3 separate regions of the Homo sapiens genome follow, and all the other regions are linked to region 2. The links are contacts of gene promoters, found by promoter capture Hi-C in blood cells and fetal thymus (Javierre and others, 2016). All regions are on one chromosome and are shown on one strand. Each heading gives the region's core, a stretch centred on a gene start or on the middle of the fragment in contact. The rest is flanking DNA. Distances are from core to core; before and after follow the strand shown. Region 1 overlaps N4BP2 (NEDD4 binding protein 2). Region 2 holds the start of RBM47-AS1 (RBM47 antisense RNA 1). Region 3 overlaps N4BP2 (NEDD4 binding protein 2).

Region 1 (2,700 bases), core at 98-2,597, 270 kb after region 2:
TGAGTGCAGTGGTGTGATCTCGATCTCGGGTCACTGCAACCTCCACCTCCCAGGTTTAAGCGGTTCTCCTGCCTCAGCCTCCCAAGTAGCTGGGATTACAGGCACACGCCACCACACCCAGCTAATTTTTGTATTTTTAATAGAGACGGGGATTCACCATGTTGGCCAGGCTGGTCTTGAACTTCTGACCTCAGGCGATCCACCTACCTCGGCCTCCCAAAGTGCTGGGATTACAGGCGTGGGCCACCACACCAGGCCAATTATAAACAAAATATTTTCTATATTTGTTTAATAGAATTTTAACCTACTGCAGTTTTAAAATTACATGCCTCAAAAATAAAATATAAGTATTTAGTACTGTCTGAAATACGACTTATACAGACAGTTCTAGAAGCATTTCGATAAGGCAGCAACATCTGGAAGATATTTAACCATTTCTTTTTCTCTGAAAACCTTTCTGTCTATAGAAAGTATAAAATTACAATATAATCTCAGACCCAACTTTCTTTCCATAAAATGCACACAGAAGAACAGAACAAAAGGTAAAAGATCAAGGTCATATACAAAGCAGAAGAAAGGGCAAAAGCATGTCTTCCTTCCTGTAGGATATGGCAAAATAAAAGCATTTTATGTGTTTAGTTTTGAAAATAAAAAATATTCAAGTGTTTTTGTTAGATCTCCTTTTTTTCTTTACTACCACTACTATGTCCTTTTTCCTCTTTTAATACCACCCTTTGGGGGGCATGAATCAGGTCTCAAAGCACTTTAAATACCTCTCACAAAAGACTTTTAGGACATTACTAAATGTCATACAACAATTAATACAAAGGTAACCTTTTCTGAGAAACAATCAGAGCATTTTAAACTTTAAAACTGTAGCTGATAATTTTCTTACATATTTTGTAATCAATAAAATTTCTCTGTAATATCTTTAACAGGTAACATTTGCATTTGATTCAGTAAAAAATCAAACCTCACTTGCATTTTGAAAAACATCATAATTTTTTTGTTTCATAATTGAATATTATTTATAATAAAACACATCTTTAGGGTAGAATTGACTGAATTACTGCAAATAAAAGTAATTTTAACCTACAAACCTTCATACTTCTAATTCAAGGATGTTTATTTTACTTTAGCATGACTTTCAAGCACCCTGGTTTAATTTCAGAGAACCTGCAGAAATGAGAAAAGAGTTATTTTAAAGATGAAAATTTCAAATTAGCTAAGGAATATACCTTGTAATCAATTCCAAGTACCTACGCTTAATATAATATTTACTACCAAAGTATTGACCCTTATTAAGTCAATATCCAAGACCAACATCTAGGTTTGTGTTCCTTTTATCTACGGTCAAAACAAATACAATCTTAAAGCTGGAGGTTGCTCTTGACTTAGTATAACTTAAGATTTGTCAAAACCTGTGAGGCCTGAATTTTACCTTTATGAAAAAGAGTATGCTGTAGGAAGAATAAAGTCCTTGGTGCATCATGAAAGCACCAAGAAGAAATCTCTGATATATCAGGTAAGTCTGATTAATCTGGCCATGCAATGCTTTCAACTCTATCCGGAGAGAATTTAAAGGAAGACTAGTCTCTAAAATAGATAATTAATCTCAACATAATGTTCTGGTCTAACTACTCCTTTTATAAAAATAACCCTGATGTCACCTGTTTTATGCTCATAACTTATGCTATCATTTTCGATAATGTAGCCAAATAACATCTTATTACATGGCATAAAATAAATATGCTACACTGAAATTGGTGGGTAGGAGTTAATGATACACATCTGCAGGAAATCTATCCATCAACAGATATTTCATCTTTGACTTTCTTGTCATTTTCTGTTATTAAATAATTATCACTTAATGAAAAAGAACATTTCATGTTTGTCAACACAGGTCATTAATGGCATTTAACTTATGAAAACACAAATAAATTCATATTAACTGAACATTTCTGCTAAAGTTTAAACGTACCTAAATTATAACTATATTTCAATAGAAGCCACCCAATTCCATCCAAAATCCACAAATACTGATTTCCTTTCAAAAGAATAATAGCAAATCTTAAAGTATGATACATATTACCTAATTATTTTGCATATTATCAAAGAAACAAATATATTTACTTTCTTTTAGAACTTTAAATTTATGATAGAAAGTTTTATCAGATGATTATTGGCAACAAACACATTTTTCCTTATTTCTGGTTTACCAGACAACATAAATCCAGCAGGGAAAGTTATATCATAATTTAAGCATGAATCTGTGGCTGAAATCAGATGATTAAATTTAGTTAACTATTTTAACAGATTGTTCTGAGTACGCTATTAGTGTTTATTTACCTAGCTATATTAGGGCTATTGCTATTATCAATAACAGAAATCTATACTCACAGAAATATCTGATAAAGATCTATATGGGCAGTTGCCATTATTAATAACAGAAATCTACACTCACCTGAAGCTATGGCTTATGAGGTACTTAATGACAGCTGGTTTGATGCGAGCAACTCCTCCCTGGCTGTGGTTTCCTCTCCCCGTAATCACAGACAAATAGGGCTTCCCACCGTTCTGCTTAAATTCTGTTACAACAGAAATCAGGGGAGTTAAAATTCATTTATCTTACATTCTCAATAGAAAACGTAAACCTTAGCTACTCAAGCACATGAAATTGTTTTCATGAGGATTTTGGGG
Region 2 (2,700 bases), core at 137-2,636:
GTTCCATGGCAAACACTTTGGGAAATACTGAACCACAGTCTTCCCATTCATACTCCTGTTTGTTCTGAAAACATCTTATGTTGCACTTTCAAGTAGACAGAAGGAAGTAGCAGGGGCTTTTCTAGAGCCAGTGGTGGCCGTCAACAGTTCAGGCAACTTTACTTAGCTTGTCCTTGCCCACTTCTTCCTCATTTGGAAACTGCTCTTTATCCTTCAAAACTCAGCTCGAATATCCCCGCTGCTGAGACATTTTCTCCAACTTCCCCATTAGTTGGTTCTTTCTCTAAGCTTCTACAACAATTTGTATACATTAATGGTGTCATCTCTTAGGTGGGAGGTGATGGAAACCATCACATTGGCTGAAAATTGTGTATGGTCACAATTTTTTAAGGTCACAGCTTAAGAAGCTGTCCCTTTGGAGATCAGTATATTTGGTTTCTCTAAGTTGACACAGTCTGTTCCTCTCTCTGTCTCTGAGACAGATCATATTCCATCAGTTAAGTATGAGTTGAGGCAGCTGGCATGTATCTAGAGGCCATGTTTAAGGAAAAACACTGATTTTTAATTACTGTGAAATCAATTGTGTGGATGGTAGATTCTCCGCTGCCTTCTCTAGCTCACTCTGGGGCATAGACTGATTGAGTGGAATGGTAAGTAGAAGATTCCGGAATACAGTACAGAGAAGGTCCTCCTTATCCGCAGTTTCTGCATCTGGATTCAACCAACCGTGGCTTGAATAAAGACAATAAAAAATAACAATACAACAATAAAAAAATACAAATGTCAAAATACGATATAACAACTATTTACATAACATTTGCATCATATTAGGTATTATAAGTGATCTAGAGATTATTTTTAAAGTGTATGGGTCCCAAGACTTTGGGAGGCTGAGACAGGAGGATTGCTTGAGGCCAGGAGTTCAAGACCAGCCCTGGGCAACATAGTGAGACCTTGTCTCTATGAAAAAAAATTTTTTTACAGTATACAGGAGGATGTGCATAGGTTAAATGCAAATACGCCATTTTCTCTCAGGGACTCGAGCATCTGAGGATTTTGGTATCCACGGAGGTCCTAGAGCCAATCACCTGTGAGGATACTGAGGGGCAACTGTATTTCACCTTTCCCTCAGCCTTCCAGGCCTCTCACTTTCACAAGGTGGCATCACTGAGTTTGAGGATGCAGCTCCACCTTACCTCTTCAGTGGCTCTTCTCCCACTTGCTTACAATAATTGCTGTTTGCCCGCCCCTCTGCCTTTCTCTCCCTTGCTTTTGTGTCTTTGTATTCCCGTCTTCTGGGAGAGGCTTGTTGAATGAATGGATGATAGGTACATACACGTGTTCAGGAAGGCTCCTTTTTGTCTCTTCTCCTCAGGGCCGCCCAATAACTCCAGTATACACGGTGGCTCCAAACGTTCAGAGAATTCCTACTGCCGGGATCTACGGGGCCAGTTACGTGCCATTTGCTGCTCCAGCTACAGCCACGATCGCCACACTACAGAAGAACGCGGCAGCCGCGGCCGCCATGTATGGAGGATACGCAGGCTACATACCTCAGGCCTTCCCTGCTGCTGCCATTCAGGTCCCCATCCCCGACGTCTACCAGACATACTGAGGCTGGTGACCAGCACGAAGACAGACCACACAAACACCACTGAAGGAACGCTTGACTATTTATGAAGAAGGAACATGTTGGATTCACACATGCAACCTGAAAGTGAAGAATGTTAGCAGATTTATTTCTGAATTATTTTATATACATGAAGTTTTCACTAGTTTTTTAAGACTATTTTCAACTTAGCATGCCTACGTTCATACATTTCCAAAAGACTTGCAATGGTTCGTGCCTTCATTCCATCTTTTAAAAATTTGTATGCTGTACTACATTTGTATAGAGGTTTTTGTTGTTGTTTTTTTAAGGATATATTTTCAGTATGAAGGTTATTTTCTTAACTTCTGCACTCCAGAGATTTCTATTTTGTAGTACCTTCAATAATATATCAACTATATATTAAAAAAGCACACTTGAGGAGCTAGGGAACTATTTTGAAAAATATATACAATATTTAAAGATACAAACAGTAGTGCTTAAAAATACTACATAAAGCATTATTTTAAAGGTTATACTGGAAAGTGCAATTTTAAAATGAGTAAAACCTCTGTATTTCTGCTGGCATTAAGGGTTGATGGTGTTACCATGTATCATCATGGCGGTACTATTTTTTAAAAGAAATTAAACACTGGATCTCTCCTTAAGCCAACATTGAAAAGACTTGCCGCACTTCTGAGTCCAAACACTGGAAAGCTCTCCTTTGCCACCGTTAGCCGGGGCTCATTCTCCATGTGCCTTAGCCTTAAACATGCCCCCACTCCCACATCTCTCACCCTGTCCCCTCCTCCCCAGATTCCCAATCCCACCGCAATGTTTGGCAAGCCTAGGACTGATAAGTAGCTCTGATAGAGGAGCTGGTGGCTTTTATACTTCTTCCTGGGTTTTTGTTGGGGTTTGTTGTTTCGTTGTTTTTTGTTTTTTTTTTTGTTTGGTTGGGGAAGTATTGTCTTCTACGTGTGCTATTTTCAGTAGCAGAGTAAGCACAAGGTTTTAATCGAGTTGCATAAGACACCTTTGCATAGCTATTTAATTGCCCAATGTAAAACTTTAATGCCATTTCTAATGCTTTTATTCATTTTTGAAGTATG
Region 3 (2,700 bases), core at 61-2,560, 320 kb after region 2:
TTGAGGACATAAAAATTAAGTAAGTATGGGTTGGCTGGGCATGGTGGCTCATGCCCATAATCCCAGCACTTTGGGAAGCCAAAGCGGGCAGACCACTTGAGGCCAGGAGTTCAAGACCAGCCTGGCCAACATGGTGAAAGCCCATCTCTACTAAAAATACAAAAATTATTTGGGTGTGGTGGTGCCCACCTGTAGTCCCAGCTACTCAGGAGGCTGAGGTAAGAGAATCACTTGAAACCAGGAGGCAGATGTTGCAGTGAGCCAAGATCAGGCCACTGCACTCCAGCCTGGGCAACAGAGTAAGACTCTGCCTAAAAAATACAAAACAAGGCCGGGCGCGGTGGCTCATGCCTGTAATCCCAGCACTTTGGGAGGCCAAGTCAGGCGGATCATGAGGTCAGGAGTTCGAGACCAACCTGGCCAACATATTGAAACCCCGTCTCCACTAAAAATACAAAAATTAGCCAGGTGTGGTGGCACGCACCTGTAGTCCCAACTACTTGGGAGGCTGAGACAGCAGAATCACTTGAACCCGGTATGCGGAGGTTGCAGTGAGCTGAGACCACGCCATTGTACTCCAGCCTGGGTGACAGAGTAAGACTCCGTCTCAAAAAAACCCCACATATTAAGACTGTCAAGTAAGAGAGAAAGACCTTGAGTAGAAAAATTAAAATCAAACTATAGTCTTGAGTTTAGTTAATAATAATAAACCAATTTCTTAGTTTTGACAAATGTATCCTCGTTATATTAGATGTTAACATGAAGGATAAATGAGTGAAGGGTATACAGAAGCTTTCCATAGTATCTCTGCAACTTTTCCATATATCTAATATTCAAAAATAAAGTTTAAAAACAAACAACAAAAACAAATGGACAAATATACACACACACAATGTAATGATCTGAAATAAAGAAAACATTATAATACACCATTGCACAAGGGATTTTCTTACCTTTCTTCCAAAGGAATTAGACCATACAGGAAATTAATGATGTACCACAACAAGTAAGTCTTACAAGTAATTTATTTGGAAGTTTTCAAAGTTCTGCCCAGTCTCTAACAACTCACTAATGAAGAAACAAAGAACCAATTTAAAAATGGGCAAAGGAGGCTGGGCACGGTACCTCACACCTATGATCTCAGCACTTTGGGATACTGAGGCGGGCGGATCACCTGAGGTTAGGAGTTCGAGACCATCCTGGCCAACACAGTGAAACCCCGTCTCTACTAAAAATACAAAAATTAGCCGGGCGTAGTGGCTTGCACCTGTAATCCCAGCTACTCAGGAGGCTGAGGCACAAGAATCACTTGAACCCAGGAGGCGGAGGTTGCAATGAGCCAAGATCGTGCCACTGCACTCCAGTCTAAGTGACAGAGCAAATATGAATAGACATTTCTCCAGAGAAGATATACAAATGGCCAAAAAACACACAAAAAGATGTTCCACATCATTAGCCATCAGAGAAAAGCAAATTGAAACCACAGTGAGATACCACTTCACACCTACCAGAATAGGAATAATCAAAAAAACGGACAATAACAAGTGTTGGTGAGGATGTAGAAAAGTTGAAACCCTCATAAATTATTAGAGGAAACATAAAAAGGTATGATTGCTTTGGAAAACAGCATGGCAGTTCCTAAAAAGGTTAGACATAGACATGTGTGTTTGTTTATAGCAGCACTGTTCTTAATAGCCAAAAAGTGAAAACAACTCAAATGTCTATTAACTGATGAATAGATTAATAAAATGTGATATATCCACCCAGTGGAATCTTACTCATCCATATAAAGGAATGAAACACATGCTACAACATGGATGAAGCTTGAAAACATTATACTAAGTGAAAGAAGCCAATCACAAAAGTCCACATGTTGTAGGAAATGTCTGGAATAGGCAAATTATCTATAGGGACAAAACACAGACTGGAAAGAAATGAAGAGTGACTGCTAATAGGTACAGAATCTTTCTGAGATGATAAAAATGTTCTAAAATTTAGCGTGTTCTAAAAGTTGCAGCAAAGCCAAATTAAATAGAGTGTATTAACGAATGCACAGCCCTGAATATTAAGTTCTAAAAACTACTGAATTATACAATTTAAATGGATGATTTGTATGGCACATGAATTTTGTCTTAACAAAGCAGTTTTAAAATGAATTCCGCCTATTAACATATATTATTGTTGCTGTTATAAGGGCATGCTGAACCATGCTAACACTTTTTTTTTTTTTGAGACAGAGTCTTGCTCTGTCACCCAGGCTGGAGTGCAGTAGTGGGATCCTGACTCACTGAAACCTCCGCCTCCCAGGTTCAAGCAATTCTCCTGCCTCAGCCTCTCAAGTAGCTGGGACTATAGGTGTGCACCACCATGCCCGGTTAATTTTTGTATTTTTAGTAGAGATGGGGTAACGCCATGTTAGCCAGGGTGGTCTCAAACTCCTGACCTCAGGTGATCCATCTGCCTAAGCCTCCCAAAGTGCTGGAATTACAGGCATGAGCCACCGCGCCCAGCCAATGTTAACACTTTTCACCTTCATTTAACTTTCACAACAATCCTGGGAGTTAAGTATTATTATTCCCTTTTACAAAGGGGACACTGGGCCTTGGAAAGTATAAGTAAATTGCACAAGATCATATAGCTAGTAACTGGTGAATCCAAGGGTGATCTTCATCACCAAATCATACTGCCTCCTTTGGTTTT

Evidence for each region. Contacts are between HindIII fragments. The CHiCAGO score rates a contact against its expected background, and 5 or more counts as called.
Region 1: a contact is called between a fragment that was not itself captured here and the fragment with the promoter of RBM47-AS1 in region 2, in 1 of 17 cell types (M1 macrophages). The highest score is 7.0, in M1 macrophages.
Region 3: a contact is called between a fragment that was not itself captured here and the fragment with the promoter of RBM47-AS1 in region 2, in 1 of 17 cell types (naive B cells). The highest score is 5.5, in naive B cells.

Annotation. Positions count from the first base shown.
Region 1 is chr4:40,152,668-40,155,367 of GRCh38, reverse strand. N4BP2 (NEDD4 binding protein 2) reads right to left here. Exons shown (of 18, transcript NM_018177.6): 17 at 2,465-2,588; 18 at 1-1,176. The coding sequence ends at 1,131. Among named protein-coding and RNA genes, the nearest start is that of RHOH, 43 kb to the left of the region's middle. The HindIII fragment of the contact is 3,367 bases long and covers 1-2,700 here.
Region 2 is chr4:40,424,819-40,427,518 of GRCh38, reverse strand. RBM47-AS1 (RBM47 antisense RNA 1) reads right to left here and starts at 1,386. Exons shown (of 2, transcript NR_199039.1): 1 at 1,337-1,386; 2 at 1-731. It overlaps RBM47 (RNA binding motif protein 47), which reads left to right. Exons shown (of 7, transcript NM_001098634.2): 7 at 1,376-2,700. The coding sequence ends at 1,615. RefSeq lists an enhancer at 898-2,097. The HindIII fragment of the contact is 3,876 bases long and covers 291-2,700 here.
Region 3 is chr4:40,109,248-40,111,947 of GRCh38, reverse strand. All of the region lies in intron 5 of N4BP2 (NEDD4 binding protein 2), which reads right to left. Among named protein-coding and RNA genes, the nearest start is that of N4BP2, 54 kb to the right of the region's middle. The HindIII fragment of the contact is 1,031 bases long and covers 795-1,825 here.